2 separate regions of the Homo sapiens genome follow, and region 1 is linked to region 2. The links are contacts of gene promoters, found by promoter capture Hi-C in human tissues and cell types (Jung and others, 2019). All regions are on one chromosome and are shown on one strand. Each heading gives the region's core, a stretch centred on a gene start or on the middle of the fragment in contact. The rest is flanking DNA. Distances are from core to core; before and after follow the strand shown. Region 1 holds the start of PPA2 (inorganic pyrophosphatase 2). Region 2 overlaps LINC02503 (long intergenic non-protein coding RNA 2503).

Evidence for each region. Contacts are between HindIII fragments. The study calls those that stand out against the background at their distance.
Region 1: a contact is called between the fragment with the promoter of PPA2 here and a fragment that was not itself captured in region 2, in 1 of the 25 tissues and cell types used here (lymphoblastoid cells).

Annotation. Positions count from the first base shown.
Region 1 is chr4:105,470,516-105,475,311 of GRCh38, reverse strand. PPA2 (inorganic pyrophosphatase 2) reads left to right here and starts at 1,250. Exons shown (of 12, transcript NM_176869.3): 1 at 1,250-1,418. The coding sequence starts at 1,262. RefSeq lists a silencer at 1,060-1,269 and enhancers at 1,490-1,609, 1,900-2,069. The HindIII fragment of the contact is 4,779 bases long and covers 1-2,557 here.
Region 2 is chr4:104,015,236-104,019,813 of GRCh38, reverse strand. The region is part of intron 5 of LINC02503 (long intergenic non-protein coding RNA 2503); the gene reads right to left. Among named protein-coding and RNA genes, the nearest start is that of LINC02503, 56 kb to the right of the region's middle. The HindIII fragment of the contact is 5,615 bases long and covers 274-4,578 here.

The DNA of each region.
Region 1 (4,796 bases), core at 1-2,500, 1.5 Mb before region 2:
TTATGGGAGCATTTGCCTTATAGTTATGCCTATTCAAGTTGACACATTACAAAGGTACCACTGTTGACAAAAACATTTTAGGATCTATAATCTTAGTAGAGTGTCTCTAAGTAGCTAGTCACAATATCTCCTAGGAATCCTTTCTGGAACTTGGGTAGACCAGTATCTCAATTTTAATGATCACACGATAATTGGAGATGCTGAAAGAACCTGGGTGCCCAGTAGGAAAGTAGCCTAGATGATGATAGTCCCAAAGAAGATGGACTAGAAAAAAATAAAATGACACGTGGCAGACTACTGGTTGTTCTACAATATCCATTCTCCTGGATACTGGCCCAAACCATCCTCCTATCTCAGCCTCCCAAGTAGCTGGAACTACAGGCGTGTGTGCCACCCCGCCTGGCCGATGCGCGGTGGCTCACGCCTGTAATCCCAGGACTTTGGGAGGCCAACGCAGGCGGATCAATGGAGGTCGGGAGTTCGAGACCAGTCTGACCAACATGGGGAAACTGTCTCTACTAAAAATACAAAAATTAGCTAGGCGTCGTGACGCATGCCTGTAATCCCAGTTACTCAGGAGGCTAAGGCAGGAGAATAGCTTGAACCCAGGAGGCGGAGGTTGCAGTGAGCCGAGATTGTACCATTGCATTCCAGCCCAGGCAACAGTGTGAGACTCCGTCTCAAAAACAAAACAACAACAAAAAATAATAAAATAAAAGAAAGAATAAATAATCTCTACTGGGTTAGGAAATGGCCTTATGGAGAAGATGGCATTTGAGTAAGCTACTTAGGGTTTTTTGCTCTGTAAGTCGGTGTCAACGTCCCGTTTTCACGTGGTGGCCTGATCATTTTGTCTTATAGTGATGTCTTTGCGTGCATGTGCGCTCATCTCCTATATTGGACAGGGTCTAGAGCAGTTCCTGGCACAGAGTAATCACTCAATATTACATCACTATACTAAAAAATCATGATAGTAATTCTTGACGGGATAAATGAAGGCATGAATAAATGTATGAATTAACGAGTGGCAGTGAGCTCTTCAGGGGTGGTGGGTCTTGTCTCACTCGTCTTTGAGCTGCGGCCTCGCTGAGGGCATAGTGCGCACAACTGGCTGGTGTTCCAGATTCCACTGGCAGGGACCAGGATCGCAGCCCGAGCGCCGGGGCGGGAGGGATGACTCCGGACGGTAGGGGGCACCGGCGTGCGGCCCGGCCGAGCCCCCAGGTAGCTCCGCGCGCACAGCAGGACCGTCATTGACGCCATGAGCGCGCTGCTGCGGCTGCTGCGCACGGGTGCCCCAGCCGCTGCGTGCCTGCGGTTGGGGACCAGTGCAGGGACCGGGTCGCGCCGTGCTATGGCCCTGTACCACACTGAGGAGCGCGGCCAGCCCTGCTCGCAGAATTACCGCCTCTTCTTTAGTAAGTAGCTCCCGGAGGTTCGCCGAGCGGCGCACCGGAGAAACCTGGGTGGGGGATGGAATGGGGGACACTTGGGACGCCCCGCGCGGTCTCCCTTCTCTCTTTTTGGGGCCCTCAGCGGTAGCCGCGCGGTCCAGGCCACCTTACTTCCCGCGGGAGCGCGCACCGAGTCACGAGAACTGCCAGCGAGGAGGCGGCGGATCAAGACCCCAAAGCGGAGAGCAGAGGCGCAGGGCTGCCGGCTGGGGGGTAGATAGCGCCCTGTGCCCTGCCAGCCGCCCTCCCCGAGGGGTAGGCAGAGTGCAAGCGGCCACCCCGCGGCGGCCTGCAGCCATTAGCCGGCCCGGCCGCCGTTCCCGGTTCACACAACTCAGTGAGGAAGGGAAGGCAGAGCCCGCCCACACGCCGGCCTTCCTAGAGGCGTAAGAAACCTCCTACTGCGGGAGCTCCCTGACGTCGGAGAGGCAGGCGGAACTTTGCGGATGCCTAATCCAGCGCGTCTTCTTTTTTTGGAGGGACTCTGATGAAGGTTCTTTCCCCAGAAGCTTGACTTGGTACGCACAAGTTTACACCCTGAGTGTGATCCACCATCCAAAGCCTCGTTGGTTCCGGAGCAGCCCCTTTTCCTCCCCAAGCTGAACAAGCCCAGAAGGCTAAGCGACTTCGGGGGGGTCCCTGAGTTGCCGAGCTCAGAGAAAGGACCCAGGTCTTCGTGACTCATTGTTCCGTGTACCCCATTGTTTCACTGTGTACGTTAACCGTAACAGAAAATAGCGATGTCGGTCGCTTGCCTTCACTCCCCACTGACTGCAGAGCCTTGGAGTGGTAGTATCAAAGTGGGCCTTGCATTATCGCTCCCCTTTTCGGAGCACTGGCTCTGGAGGCTTTCAGTTCTAAGCAGGCCCTCGAGTTCTTCACGTCTTAACTCTGTGACCCCGGACGAGTTTAAGTTGCTAAGCCTTGTTTTTTCTCATCCGTAAAATAGGGCTGCAAGTATTACATGACATTATATATGTAAACTGATTAGTCACAGGGCCTAAAATATAAATTACTATTGTTAATACCGATAATCATTATAGATATTTGTAATTTATGAGAGATTTGCAGTTATGCTACATGAGTTTAGGGTCGAGGATTATTTTGTGGGAAAGAAGAGTTTGCCTAAAGTCGTGTGATTATAATGCAACTAGTACTAGAATTTCTATTTTCTTCAAAATTGGTTGCAGTTTTCACCCTATGCCACATATTTTCTTCTATCTTTGGTTAAGACTGATCAGGTGAACAGGAAGTCTCAAATTTCTGAATGGATTATGTTCTAAAAGGTTACCATGTGATGATTAATGGGAATAGTCAGAAAAAATTATGAAGTGGCAGTTCGCTTTTTAAGCAGATTGAAAAAAGGCCTGTCTACTGCAAGTATTCTAGATTTGCAATAAGTACGGTAATTAATAGATACCCAAATAATAAATATTTATGAAGTGTGCTAGACACTGTTAGGCATAGTACAGAGATTCACAATATTACTATAATTATGGAAAAAGTAAATACACTGGTTGAGCAAAAACAGGCTTGAGAAGCCAGGAGCGCACAGAGTAGTTGACCCAGTACCGGATTTGGAATGGGGAGTCCTAGGCCATAATCTTGGCTCTGCCGTTAACTCGCTGTGTGCTGTTGGGTGGGTGGTTACTTCAGTTCTTTCTCACAGAGCCAGTTTCTTCAGCTGTAAAATGAAGCTTTTGACCTTGAAACGATGATCCTCAAGGTCCTTCTCAGCACTGGTATTCCCTGAAGGCATTGGATGAATAACGGAGATTCTAACAGTCTCTGTTAAGACAGGATGTCGAATGGGGGCATTTTTGGGAGTATGTTGGCCTCTTATTGTTGGTTTGTTTCTTTAGCTGCAAATGTACTTAGGACTCATGATTTTTCTGTAACTAGAGTGCCACAAATAAAATACGTTTTTCATTCAGTTGGATAAACAGGGCAGGAAAGAAGAAAACCCGATTTTACTAAGGTAAATGGGCAAAAACTGGAAGAAAGGGGAGTGTGGTTTTGGAGAGGGTCCCGATGGTAAGATCCTGATTGGAAGGTGTGTTGGTTAAACAATTTCTGAACTAACCGCCAGATGGCATCACTGGCCAGGACTGTTTACTACCTGCTAGAAGGGGTAGGGCAAAGTGAAACGAAGCCACTCTAGGGCGAATGGGGTAAGGGGAAAGCAACGAATAAATTGCCCTTTATAAAGATGATCACAGATTGGATATTTATTACTCAGTGTGTCTGTATGCAGTACTAGGGTGGACTAATGTCTCACTTCAAAAAAAATATGAGTGTAGTATACTTGGCCTAAAATTGTTACTCAGTGTTACTAAAGTGTAATCATTTTCCACATCTCCAAATATATTCCAAGTCTCTGAAATACTAGTGCATTGGGAGGTAGAACATTTTCGAGCTTCATGTCTGTAAATGGTTTCTCTTTACTGTCATTCAGTAAAATCAGAATAAATGATTGATGTAATACTTAAAAAAAAATTGGTGTTAAACTTTGTAGAAAGAGTGAGACAGGATGATTAGGGGAAAGGGTATCCTGATGGGAATCATCAGGCCTCCTTGGTGCCAGCCCTGACCCTGTTAGTATCTTGCTGTCACTTCACCTCCCTGCATCTCATTTTTTAAAACCATGGAATGAGGAGATTGGACCAGATGATCATTTTCCAGACTGCTTAGTTGAACACAAGCATCCCATGGTATATTATTAGGTTTTCGTTAAAACAGAGGGTTTCATGGTTTAATAAATTAGAACACTTCCCATTTTATTACTTTTTTGAAGAAGAATTTGCCTATTTAAGTTCTGGAAAATTCGGATGTAACTTCTCCAAAAACTGAACCACAGAGTACTTATTTCTCAGAACATTTGTTAACATCTTAGTGACATCAGGGTTATGATTTCTGCAACTTCCAGAAGCAACTGTGCTGTAACAGTTCTAAACTAATAGTCAAACCACTTAAGTTGTAGTCCTGACTTTACCGTCTTGGACAAGTCACTCGACTGAATTAACCAGAGGCATCCCTTACCTTCAGATGACATCCGGTAGCTCAGTTTCTCCGTAAATAAAATGGGGATAGCACTAGTAATTTTATAGAATTGCTGTGGCAGTTAAATGAGACTATGTGTGTAATTATCAGTGTCTCACACGTGATAGGTATTTAATAAATGTTATTTATTTTTCCCTTTTGACTTTAAGACATTAGACTAAAATCCTTATTATTAGATTCTGTGAAGGGAGAAAATAAGGTGATGTGATTGATTATTTTGAAGTGTTCCTGTTAATTTATAGGTTTCAGAAGGTTTTTTGTTGTTGTTGTTTATTCATTTTA
Region 2 (4,578 bases), core at 1,832-4,331:
ACTGGGATTTGCGAATTCAGCCTTCTCTGGTAACCCTAACATTGATTCCTCTTCCGGTGTACAGAGAGATGTTTGCTTTATCACAGCCTTTGTCTTTCAGGTTTTTTTTTTCTAATTAGCATATCTCTGTTACCAATTTCTGTTTTAACATCTTTTGGGGTAAAACACTTGTTTAGTGAAAGTGCCTTTTTCTATCAGCAAAAAATATCAAGAATCGGTCTAGGGCCTAGTACTGAATGTCACCTAACTGTTCTTTCCCATGGTATGTATTTCATATTTTTTTTAAGAAAACCTGTGCTCACACCACCCTTTCATGTATATAATTCCCCTTCACCCATGATTTTTTAAAAAACAAGTCATCCCCCCAAAATTGTGTAAAATCCAGTTTAAAACCCATAACATCCATGAATCCATCTAAATAACATTATTCCTTACTTCTTTTTCTCCTTTAACACTCCCTATCTATCCATCTCTATCAATCACTGTTTGAAAATTCATATTGTTGCTCCCCAATTAAATGAAAGTTTTTAGATACTGCTAATTAAAATGACTTATTATGATTTTAATTGAGATGTAACTATATACCAAGCACTTAGTCAAGCGGTTGATATTTACTATCTCATTTACTTTTTATGACATCCATTTGTAGTAAGCATTAGGCCCATTTTAAACGCAGAAAATTGGGCATTAGAGAAAGTTTCTTGACTAAAGTCACCTAGCTGGTAAACAATACAGCCAGGATATATTTCTTTTTTCCCTTTCTTGCTTACCATTTTGTAACGTAATATCTATTTAATTACATATGTTGTTATTTGCCACTACAATGTAAATTGTTAAGGGCAGAGATTTTAATCTGTTTTTGTTCATCATTTTGTCTCAAATAATGCTTACCTCTAATAATATCTCTGTCCCTGAATCAACCAACCAATCAATAAGAAAAGGGCACAACATGAAATTTACAATCTAAATATCCTTTTTATATAAAAAAAGAAATGATTCGAATCATGATTTTATTGTTACTTAGCAGAGTTCAAATTCCAGGTGTTGCTTACTGCATGCTTTTTTGAATTATTTTTAAAATCAGAAAATTTAGATAAAATAATGATACATTGTGAAGAATATAAATAAATTCCTTTGTTGATAGTAAGGAATGTAGCATAAATTTGTTAATTACCCAAAATATAAGCAAAATCTTGAAAGCAACAATCATCTATGCATTAAGAATATAAAAGTGTTAACATTTTTCTGTTTACCGATACTAATATCCAAAGTCTCTTGGGCACATTTGAGAAACTTCCTAAAAACATTTTTAAAGTAAATAAGCTTGTGCAGACATCTTTTATTTTTTACACACTGAAAGTATTGGATAAGGGAGATAGAACTCTGAAGTTGAGTTATAACTTTCATGTTATCCTTAAAAATCAACTTTACAGCACCAAACATCCTTCCAGAATCTTCTGAGATTGTCTCCCATCCCCTGCTTATTTATTTATTTCCTTTTATTTGTAGTTGACAAGTAATAATTGTACATATTTAAGGGGTACAGAGTGACATTTCCGTCCATGTATACAAAGTGTAATGATCAAATCTGGCTAATTAGCATATCTACCACCGTGAATATTTATGATTTCTTTTTGTTGTGAACATTCAAAATCCTCCCTTCTAGCTTTTTGAAAGTCCATACTAAATTAGTGTGAACCATATCCATCCTACAGTGCTGCAGAACAATATAACTTACTCCATCCATCTAACCCTAACTTTGTATTAGCTAACCAACCCCTCTTTAGCCTCTCCTCTTTCCCACCCTTCGCAGCCTCTAATAACCAGAACTTTACTCTCCATTTCTATGAGCTCAATTTTTTTTAGCCTCCACATATGAGGGAGAACCTGTGGTATTTATCTTTCTATGCCTGGCATATTTCACTCATAAATGTCCTCCAGGCTCATCCGTGTTGTTGTGAATGACAGGATGTCATTCCTTTTTATTGCTAAATAGTATTCCATTGGGTACATATACCACATTTTTATTATTGATATATCCACTGATGGATATTTAGGTTGATGCCATATTTAGGCTATTGTGAATTTTCTAGGATTTTGAACTCTCTATTGAAAGATCTAGGTTTTTAAATTTATGTTTAAACATTATTATTTTTAACTACAAATATATATTTATGTCAGTAAATCAGTTGTGGTATGTATTTAGTGAGGGTATACTCTTTTCCTGAGGGTTTTATTTTTAAAATATGGATTAAAACTGACACAATCATAAATCTTAAATACCACATTCATGTTTCACAAAAAATAATTTTCCAATGATTTGCTTAACAAAAGACAAAACAATATTGTAAACTGTCAAAGAAGAAAGCAATCACAGTTCCACTGGGAGACAAAAGTGTCTTTCTTCTCTAAATACTGAAGCAATATCTGTACAATATCAAATGCATTTAAAAGGCTAATCAGACAGTTGCCATGATGGGAACAGAAGAGCCTACTTTTCTTCTTTCAAAATCCTGGGTAAGCCACAAATGAAAGGAAATGGAGTATCAGGGATAAAAATGGTTAAAATGCCTTTTTATAGCCTTTCCATTTTCTTTTGAAAAACATTTTAGGATGTAATAGTTAGTATTCCTAAAAGGACTTAAAATACTTATTAATTATAATAAATAAACCAAGCACCATGAACCCAGTTCCTAATTTTCAGAGTGCACAAGCATAGCATTGTTGATGCTATTTCTGGAATTTCTTTCTATTTTCATTTCAATTTTTTGTGATGACATCTTAGGATGGGGGACAGATCACTGATTTCCCTCAAGAAGAATCTTTATTTACTGGGTAACTTTTGCAACAAGTAATACATCAAAAAGAGGGAGCTATGTGTTTCAAGATACAAACAGGTATGATGGAGCAAGTTTTCGATAAATAACTGGCTAGATTATTTTAATTTCTGAACAGCCTAAGATTAAGATGCCCTATCATTATGCCACATTTCATTGTTCTTTCCTAATGGTTTACCTTAGAAAAGGTGCTCAAAATAAAATTGATGCAGTCCATAAATATTAAATGAATTATTTCCATATGCCAGGCACTGTTGCAGGTGGTCAATATGTAAACAGTAATAAATGAGACAGATGTAGCCCCATTCTTATAGTGCTGACATTTAAATAGCACACAACAATTGAATATTTAATGCCCCTAAAGAGGTAGACAAGATTCAAAAGAAAGTAAATAATGGAATGATATATTTTTACATTAGTAGAGTTAATAAAGTAGAATATCAAAAAGAGTATACTTAATTAAATTAATTAATAATTCCTCCCTCCACCTCTTGCTCTTTCTCTTATTTTTTACATATTATCTCTTTCATATTTACTCATAAATAATGAATTTGGTATGTATTACAAATGAAAAAATGCTTTTCCCTTACAGTTAAGTTATAAATTTGTAAATAACCTCAGAAACATGAGCAAATTTGTTACAGGTAAAATGAGTGAACATCACAGTTCTTTTCACTGAATTTCAGAAAAATTTATAAAGTCATCTATATGTGAACAATATTTTAAATGACTTGTAAGGACTGTCTAGAGGAACATAAAGAGTCTCATTTACTCATAGATGCTGATGAATCAATTTATCCCCAAGGCAATGATATTAGTATGTCACCTCTATAGATCGTCCTAGATGATTTGGCATATATTAAAAAAAAAGTGTACTCTTTCCTTATTGATTAGGAATTGATTCCTTATTGAATAGGCTATGTTAAAATTAGCATATCTAATCAATTATTTAATCCAATGAAAAATAATGGGAAATATACTAAAATGTTGTCTCTGCTAAAAATAAAAAAAAAATCAAGAGGAAAGTTATTTCTCACCAACTGCTTTTCTTTATAAAGAATAGTTCCAATACTTAGTGAATGATGGAAGAATTAGGCCATCTGCTGGCAAGTGGCAAACAGGCAACCTTTACACATCCAAACTCAACTAAAGCCACCTCAATGGTACTTAAGGGACTGAGGGAGTTGATTAGAAAAGGGAAGCATTATTTTTCCTTGTCCACATTAATTGGTAATCTTTCACGTTTAATATTTTCAATCGCAGTGATTTAACTTCATAACTTTAAACACTTTTAATAGTGGTAAGGGGCTACAACAGTAGGTAGTTATAACTCTATGGCATGCATCATTTATTTATTCACCAATATTGATTGATAGTCTGCTATGTATAAAGAAGGTTGTAAACATTAGGGACAGAGCAATATACACGACACCTTTCTTACTCTCACAGAACTAATATTTTAGATAGTCAGTTGTTTAATTAACATGCTAAATCTTAATTTTTTGAAGAGTGGAGTAGGCCAGGCGCGGTGGCTCACGCCTGTAATCCCAGCACTTTGGGAGGCCGAGACGAGCGGATCACGACGTCAGGAGATCGAGACCATCCTGGCTAACATGGTGTAAACCTCGTCTCCACTAAAAATACAAAAAAATTAGCCAGGCGTGGTGGCGGGCGCCTGTAGTCCCAGCTACTCCGGAGGCTGAGGCAGAAAATGGTGTGAACCCAGGAGGTGGAGCTTGCA